3 separate regions of the Homo sapiens genome follow, and all the other regions are linked to region 1. Evidence: promoter capture Hi-C in human tissues and cell types (Jung and others, 2019). All regions are on one chromosome and are shown on one strand. The core of a region is centred on a gene start or on the middle of the fragment in contact, and the rest is flanking DNA. Distances in the headings are between cores, read along the strand shown. Region 1 holds the start of RPL9 (ribosomal protein L9). Region 2 overlaps LINC02265 (long intergenic non-protein coding RNA 2265). Region 3 has its middle 13 kb from the start of RHOH.

Region 1 (2,600 bases), core at 43-2,542:
TCCGAACGGTAGCCAGTTCCTTTCTGTTACCCCACCATTTGTCAACCCGGAGCTGTAACAGAACAAAAAATGTATTCTTTCCAGAAATATGCAGGCTTAAAAGACAACAGACCACTTACCGAATTACTTTAAGATTCTAGAATTAACCCTTATCAAAGCACATGGTTTTCAACTGGAAAAATCCAACCACCTATAAAACCTCCCAACAGTTAAGCTTTGTAGAAGTTGCAACAAACTTCCCTTCTGGAAAATTAAATCATCAGGTTTAAATGACCTACTGCCGGTTCCTGTGATTTTTACAAAGCAATCACTAGGAAAATAAACCAAACTTCTAACACCATTAAGACGTGTCACTGATGACCACTATTACATTTGAGCTTTATATAATTGGCTGTGTTCAGAATCTGGTTTTTCAATTTCACTGAACAGGCTGGTATTCTGGACAGCAACATTTAAAGCTGAAGCACTGAACCTTAATTCGAAAATTGTTAAAGCAACCAAATGTGATGCTGTTATAAACCACCTTCCAACGAGCAACTGAATTATCAGAAGAAAAACCCTCACCCTCTTTTTTTTCTTTCCAAGAAGGCTGAGTTCTACATTGATGTGATTGAAGTCCCTCCGCAGGGTTCCTCTGGGGCCCTTCACGATAACTGTGCGTCCCTTCAGAGTAATGTCGACTAGAAGAGAGAACACACTCGTCAGGCCACACAACGCTTGGAACGTGCAGTAAAGATGTAAGTAAAAGACATCAAGTCTCATACCATTTTCTGGAATGTCGACAGTCTGATTGCTGAGAATAGTCTTCATTCTGAAACACAAACACTGGGGGTGAGGCCGACGCAAGGCCCGTTTTTCCACCAAACTACGCCGCACAGAGCTCCACTCCTACTGGAGACTGCCAGGCGGAAGTTCCAGACAAGATGTCGGAGGACGGGAGACCGACAGCGGGCCCCAGTGTGTCCCAGCCTGGAAGGAGCAGCCCCAAAGCGAGAATTACGAGGCCCAGCAGTCGAACTCCCACTCAGCCCAACCCTGGAAGTCCTATGCGGGCGGTGCCATCCCGGCAAGACTGAGGGGCGGGAATAGGCCAAAAAGCCCACAACAGGATTCGCATCTGGCGCCGCCAGGCTCATATGGCGCTTGCCGAGCTGGGGGACAAACAGGACAAGGTTCCGAGAGTGGGAGCCGCGCCGCAGCCTTTCCCAGAGCAGATGGTTTCAGATTCCCAGTACCCCCACGAGCACAGAAACATCCTTACCTCGCAGTAGACGCAGCAAAGAAAGAACGTCTGTCGTCATTACGTACTTGTATCGCGTAAGGGGCCTGCGTATTGCGTCATGAGTGCGCGACGCACGTAAGGCTAAAGCAGCCAATCGTGGAGCAGCTTGGCTGCTTGTCATAAATGGAGCGACGTAATTTCGACCTGTCCTTTCCCGGGAGTTAGCGATCCCTCAACCCCTGCACTGCGCTAGTCCTAAAGAGGAAATGTCTCTACGCTGCGGGGATGCAGCCCGCACCCTGGGGCCCCGGGTGAGCGGCGGGGCGAACGGGTTTGGGCGTGGGGTGGGGGGATCCTATCCCTTCAGAGCGCCCATGCCCAATAATAAAGGCCAGTGCATTTACTGAACATTTACTACTAGCCAACGGCAGTTTTAAACGTTTTTCGTGTAATCTCATGTAATTATCCCGCCAGCCCCATGATATAGAGTCTCTGGCATCAGTTTGTTTGCAAGTCTCTCTGGGCCAGCACCGAGGACTTATTTTCTGCTTAGAGTGGTTTGTACCCTATATTTATGGAGCACTGCAGTGAGCACCCCACATAGCTATTCTGTCTTGGACTCTTACTGTGTGTGAGACACCACTCTAGCCGCAGAGAACACAAACCTGTCCGCTAGGCTTCAGCGGCAGACATTGAGAAGTGCAGTAGCAATCGTGCAACACCCTAACAGGCACTCTTTGAGTTGTCGAAGGTTCTTTTGAGATACATGTGCAGACTCGTGGATTTTGTAGTGTTTTGGCTATCTCATACACGTTTGTGTTCAGATGTAAAAGCCGAATACCATGATTTCTTATGTTCTTGACTGCCACGTTCAAACACAGAAACAATGTAACCTAGAAAGTAAAAACGTTCATCCTGGCCAACATGGTGAAACCCCGCCTCTATTAAAAATACAAAAATTAGCTGAGCGTGGTGGCGTGCGCCTGTAGTCCCAGCTACTCGCCAGGCTGAGGCAGGAGAATCGCTTGAACCCGCGAGGCGGAGGTTGCAGTGAGCCGAGATCGCGCAACTGCACTCCAACCTGGGCGACAGAGCGAGACTCCATCTCAAAAAAAAAAAAAGAAAAAGAAAGTAAAAACGTTAGGCTTGGTTTTAACCTTCCAGTTGTCTGAAACTAATTGGGCATTATTAACCTACGTTTCAACAATTATTCAAAGCTCGAGAGATTTATTGCACACTTCACTTTAAACGCCCCTGATTCAAGTCAGGACCAGAACAGTTTTAAACTGTGGCACCTTCTTCAGTTATTGCAGTTCAATCTTGTTGAAAGACAAACATCTAGTTCCTGGTAGGTGGAGTACATGAAAGTGTGATATAT
Region 2 (2,600 bases), core at 29-2,528, 860 kb after region 1:
GCTGAGGCAGTAGAATTGCTTGAATCCAGGAGGCGAAGCTTGCAGTGAGCCGAGATCGTGCCACTGCACTCCAGCCTGGATGACAGAGTGAGACTCCATCTCTCACACACACAAAAAACAAAACAAAACAAACAAACAAACAAACAAACAAAAAGACAGACCCCTGGAAGGTAAATGAAGAGAGGGACCAACAGTGACTGCCCCTCCTTCTCTGGCAGCTCTTGAGGGCAGGCCCTTCTCTTTTCATCTTGTACTCCAGGGCTTATCAAAAGGGCTTAGTATAAGTAGACTCCACAGATGCTTGTGGTCTGAATGATATGTGGAGCCCAGTGGGGTAGATAATATTATTCCTTTCACCCATGAGGAAACTGAGGTGCAAAGAAGATTTTTTAAAAATGCCTGAGATCTCTCACTAATAAATGACAGAACAGAAACTCCAGTCCCAAATCCCAAAGGCTTTTTTTCTACCAAGATGCACCCCCACGCCTCCACCATGCACTCCATCTTGCTGGTCCAGTCCGTCAAGTGAGAGCCTCGTTTTTGGTCTCTGCCTCCTATGGATCAGTCCACCCTGGAGGCACAACCTTCTTTCCCTTCTCTGAACTTCTGGTTCAGACCTCTCATTTGGCAGCGAGTCACGCCTTTAAGGAATAGTTGGCAGGGTGCAGTGGCTCACGCCTATAATCCCAGCACTGTGGGAGGCTGATGTGGGCAAATCGCTTGAGCTTAGGAGTTCGGGACTAGCCCGGGCAACATGGTGAAATCCCTGTCTCTACTAAAAATAAAAAAAAAAAGTAGCTGGATGTGGTGGCGGTGCCTGTGGTCCCAGCTCTCTGGAGGCCGAGGTGGGAGGATCGCTTGAGTCCAGGAGGCAGAGGTTGCAATGACCTGAGATTGCACCATTGCACTCCAGTGGGTGACAAAGCAAGACCCTGTCAAAAAAAAAAAAAAAAAGAGTCAGGTGCAGTGGCTCACGCCTGTAATCCCAGCACTTTGGGAGGCCAAGGCAGGTGGATCTCCTGAGGTCAGGAATTTGAGACCAGCCTGGCCAACATGGTGAAACCCCGTCTCTACCAAAAATACAAAAAAATTAGCCGGACCTGGTGGCAGGCGCCTGTAATCCCAGCTACTTGGGAGGCTGAGGCAGGAGAATCTTTTGAACCCGGGAGATGGAGGTTGCAGTGAGCCGAGACTGTGCCATTGAACTCCAGCCTGGGGAACAAGAGTGAGACTTCTCTCAAAAAAAAAAAAAAAATAGTCTTCTTGCTTGCATTACTTATTTAACTTTTATTGTTATTCAGCTTTTCTTAGAAATTTGTCTTTTTCCTCTAAATATTCCATAATCACCTTGAAGGATGAGATGATGTGTAGTTAATTCTTGTGAACTCTCTGCCCAGCATTCAGTAAATATTTGCAGTATGAGTGGATTTTGCAGCACTATTCTGATCAAAACTCACCTCTCAGTGCCTGTTTCTACTGGGAAACTAGGAAATATTTTTTTTGTTTTGTTTTGTGTTGTTTGAGACAGAGTCTCGCTCTGTCACCCAGGCTGGAGTGCAGTGGCCAGATCTTGGCTCACTGCAACTTCTGCATCCCGGGTTCAAGCGATTTTCCTGCCTCAGCTTCCCAAGTAGCCGGGACTACAGGCGCCCACCACCATGCCAGGCTGATGTTTGTATTTTTAGTAGAGATGGGGTTTCACCATTTTGGCCAGGCTGGTCTCGAACTCCTGACCTTGTGATCCACCCACCTTAGCCTCCCAAAGTGCTGGGATTACAGGTGTGAGCCACCATGACCAGCTGGAAGTGGTTTTAATATTTATCTTAAAACATGTATTCTCATCAAAAAGGTGATCCACTCCCCTCTGCTGAGGGGCTTACAACCTAAGTTAAGTTAAATACAGTTCTCTTTTCTCCAGAAGCTTAACTCTTGAGCTTGTACTTATCTTACTTATCTTGGCTATTACTACACTGGATTTAGGTCAAAGGTAGAATTTTTTTTTTTTTTTTGAAACAGAGTCTCACTCTGTCGCCCAGGCTGGACTGCAGTGGTGCGATCTCGGCTCACTGCAACCTCCACCTCCCGGGTTCAAGTGATTCTTTTGCCTCAGCTTCCCGAGAATCTGGGATTATAGGCGCCTGCCACCACGCCCAGCTAATTTTTATATTTTTAGTAGAGGTGGGGTTTTGCCATGTTGGCCAGGCTGGTCTCGAACTCCTGATCTCAAGTGATCTGCCTGCCTCGGCCTCCCAAAGTGCTGGGATTACAGGCATGAGCCTCTGCATCCAGGCTAGGTCAAAGGTGGAATCTAAATTCATTTAGGTCCTTCCATTTTGACTGGAATCTGTCAGCTCCCAAACACAGCACATCCGTTCCGCAACGGGGATCCACTCTGACAAGCTGGGTCACAGTGGGGCTAGTTTCTCTGCCAGGCGCATTTACATCCAAGGTTGTTTCATCTTGCTCTTAAGGCTGCCCTTTAGGGAGCCATGCTTGGCACAGGTGTGTGCACATTAAGGTTAAGACACTCAGCTGCCACCATCCTCTCACCGCGGACACCAGAAGCGTCACTGCCCAGGGAAGGCCAGCCAAGACTGCCT
Region 3 (2,600 bases), core at 59-2,558, 730 kb after region 1:
CACTGTTGTAGTCATAATGCACAGATACAATCCCAAGTCCTGTTTCTCTTTTTGCACGTAACCTTGTATCATGAGCATCTCCTTATGTGGTCACATGATCTTCCCAAATACTATTTTCAAATGACCGTGTGTAACATCCCAGTAAGATAATCTACCAATCATTTCTATACAGTATTCTACATTTTTGGCCATTTAGGTTGGGTATTGGCTAAACTACTTTTTACATTTTTTTTTTTTTTTTGAGACGGCGTCTGGCTCTGTCGCCCAGGCTGGAGTGCAGTGGCGCGATCTCTGCTCACTGCAAGCTCCGCCTCCCGGGTTTACGCCATTCTCCTGCCTCAGCCTCCCGAGTAGCTGGGACTACAGGAGCCCGCTACCGTGCCCAGCTAATTTTTTTGTATTTTTAGTAGAGACGGGGTTTCACCATGTTAGCCAGGATGGTCTCGACCTTCTGACCTCGTGATCCGCCCGCCTCGGCCTCCCAAAGTGCCGGGATTACAGGCGTGAGCCACTGCGACCGGCCTACTTTTTACATTTTATAAGAGGTTGGTAGCTTCAACGTCATAAGCTTTTTGTTATTTGTTACTATATCATTAGAAGACAGTCAAGTATTAGAGTAATGAACTGTGGCTTAGGTAAGACATTTATCTCACATAATAAAAAGTAAGAGGTGGTAAGTGAGTCAACAATGCCAGGCTTCTGCTGTGTCTCTCTGCAGTTTTTTGGGTTTCTTTGCTTGTCCTCAGGGCTGCTGCAACCTTCAAGGCATCTAATTCTCCACGGCTACACCCAAAGCATGTAAGGAAGACGGGTGCTCCTGCCCGTGTCTACTTTAACTGGTGAGGAGGACCTCTCCCAGGAGCAAGCAAGACTTTCCCGAACATTTCGTTGATGAGGACTGGGTCACACAGCCACTCATAGCTGCAGGGGAAGCTGAGAAGCAGGAATCAGAAGATTCTTTTTCAGTCTTAGACATCATGATTCACCCCCTGGAACAGAACATTTTGTCCATCTCAAAATAGAGGTTCTTTAGCAAGGAAGAAGACATGACTATCGGGCAGGTAGTCATCTATGTTAAACGTGGGACTTACTGTGGAGACAAAGAAAACCACAAAAATGGTTTTCAGATTAAGTTCTCAGAAGCTTCCCTGTATGGCTGCACGGGCTAGAATGGAGAAACAGGCCCTCAAAATGCAGCACTGGACTTCACATTATTTTTTTTTCTTTACAATGAAACTTCATCTGCCTTTTTTTTTTTAAATAAAAAATTCCCAGCAAAGCAAAAAACTGAAGTGAAACCAAATACATTAGAGAATCACTGAAGAGAATAAACTATATGAGTACAGCTCTTTATTAAAAATAGATTGTAATGTTTATTTTTCTGATTATAGAGTTAATCCTTACTGATCATTAAAAATCTGCAGAGTACAAAAAATTAAAGAAAAAAGTGAAAAAATTATCTCCAATTTTACCATTCAGAGACAGTCACTATTACTATCGGGTCTAATTATTTGTTGCCTTTCAGACGTGAAAAATTTTTTTCATATTAAATTGAGATTTGGGCTGGGCATGGTGGCTCATGCCTGTAATCCCAGCACTTTGGGAGGCCGAGGCAGGTGGATCATCAAAGATCAGGAGTTCGAGACTAGCCTGGCCAACATGGAGAAACCCCATCTCTACTGAAAACACAAAAATTATCTGGGCGTGGTGGCACACATTTGTAATCCCAGCTGCTCGGGAGGCTGAGGCGTAAGAATCGCTTGAACCTGGGAGGCGGAGGTTGCAGTGAGCCGACATTGCGCCACTGCACTCCAGCCTGGGCAACAGAGCAAGACTCTGTCTCAAAAAATAAATAAATAAATAAATAAATAAAATAAAAAATAAATTGGGATTTTACTGTACAGATAGTTTAATTTTATAGCTTACTCTTTGTAATAATAAATCCATGTCCCTTTAAAAATAACAGTTTTTCTCTATTTTTTTCAGGTCTCCCTTCCATTCGACGTGTGCCTCTTGTTGTCCTGTAATGAATTAATTTGAAAAGTAATTTGTCTTCTGTAAGGGGAAATGCTGTAGAAGTAAATTGATTCAGGGAGTCCCCTTACTCATTGGCTGTGTGGCCTTATGTAAGTTGCTTAACCTTTCTGAACTTCACTTTTCTCATTTACAAAGTGAAGATGTTGCTAATAATAGCAATAGTGGTTTTTGCTGTTTTATGGTTTTCTTGTGATAAATGATAATATAAAAGGCTATTGTAAATTGAATTTGAAAGAAAAAAATTTAAAGTTAAAAGAAAACTTAGTAATGTGAATACCCTTTCAAAGTATTTTTAGAAATCTCATTATTGTATATTTAGAAGATTAAAAGACAAGAATTAGAGAACAAAAACAATTTTATTTTCTATTTTGAATAATAAATACTATAGAGATAGGTTTGCTCAAAATTGTAAAGCTTGTTTTGTTTTTGGTAAACATTTGAGAACTTAAACTTATTATTTGGAAAAAAACATTTTAATAGAAATTTTACTTTTTAAAAGGTTTATGTGGTTTTTAAAAAAAGCAAAAAACATTTGTTTATGACTAATCTTGAAATTTTATATG

The links. The method cuts DNA at HindIII sites, captures the fragments that hold promoters and counts their contacts. A contact is called where the count stands out against the background at its distance.
Region 2: a fragment that was not itself captured here is called in contact with the fragment with the promoter of RPL9 in region 1 in 1 of the 25 tissues and cell types used here (dorsolateral prefrontal cortex).
Region 3: a contact is called between a fragment that was not itself captured here and the fragment with the promoter of RPL9 in region 1, in 1 of the 25 tissues and cell types used here (spleen).

The regions. Positions count from the first base shown.
Region 1 is chr4:39,457,630-39,460,229 of GRCh38, forward strand. It overlaps RPL9 (ribosomal protein L9), which reads right to left and starts at 1,293. Exons shown (of 8, transcript NM_000661.5): 1 at 1,262-1,293; 2 at 765-811; 3 at 565-680; 4 at 1-52. The coding sequence starts at 810. LIAS (lipoic acid synthetase) reads left to right here and starts at 1,427. Exons shown (of 11, transcript NM_006859.4): 1 at 1,427-1,533. The coding sequence starts at 1,489. RefSeq lists enhancers at 294-1,044, 1,240-1,534, 1,905-1,954 and a silencer at 1,475-1,524. The HindIII fragment of the contact is 10,915 bases long and covers 1-2,600 here.
Region 2 is chr4:40,317,845-40,320,444 of GRCh38, forward strand. The region is part of intron 2 of LINC02265 (long intergenic non-protein coding RNA 2265); the gene reads left to right. Among named protein-coding and RNA genes, the nearest start is that of LINC02265, 12 kb to the left of the region's middle. The HindIII fragment of the contact is 3,787 bases long and covers 1-2,600 here.
Region 3 is chr4:40,183,113-40,185,712 of GRCh38, forward strand. It overlaps a transcript of N4BP2 not described here. Among named protein-coding and RNA genes, the nearest start is that of RHOH, 13 kb to the right of the region's middle. The HindIII fragment of the contact is 3,872 bases long and covers 1-2,600 here.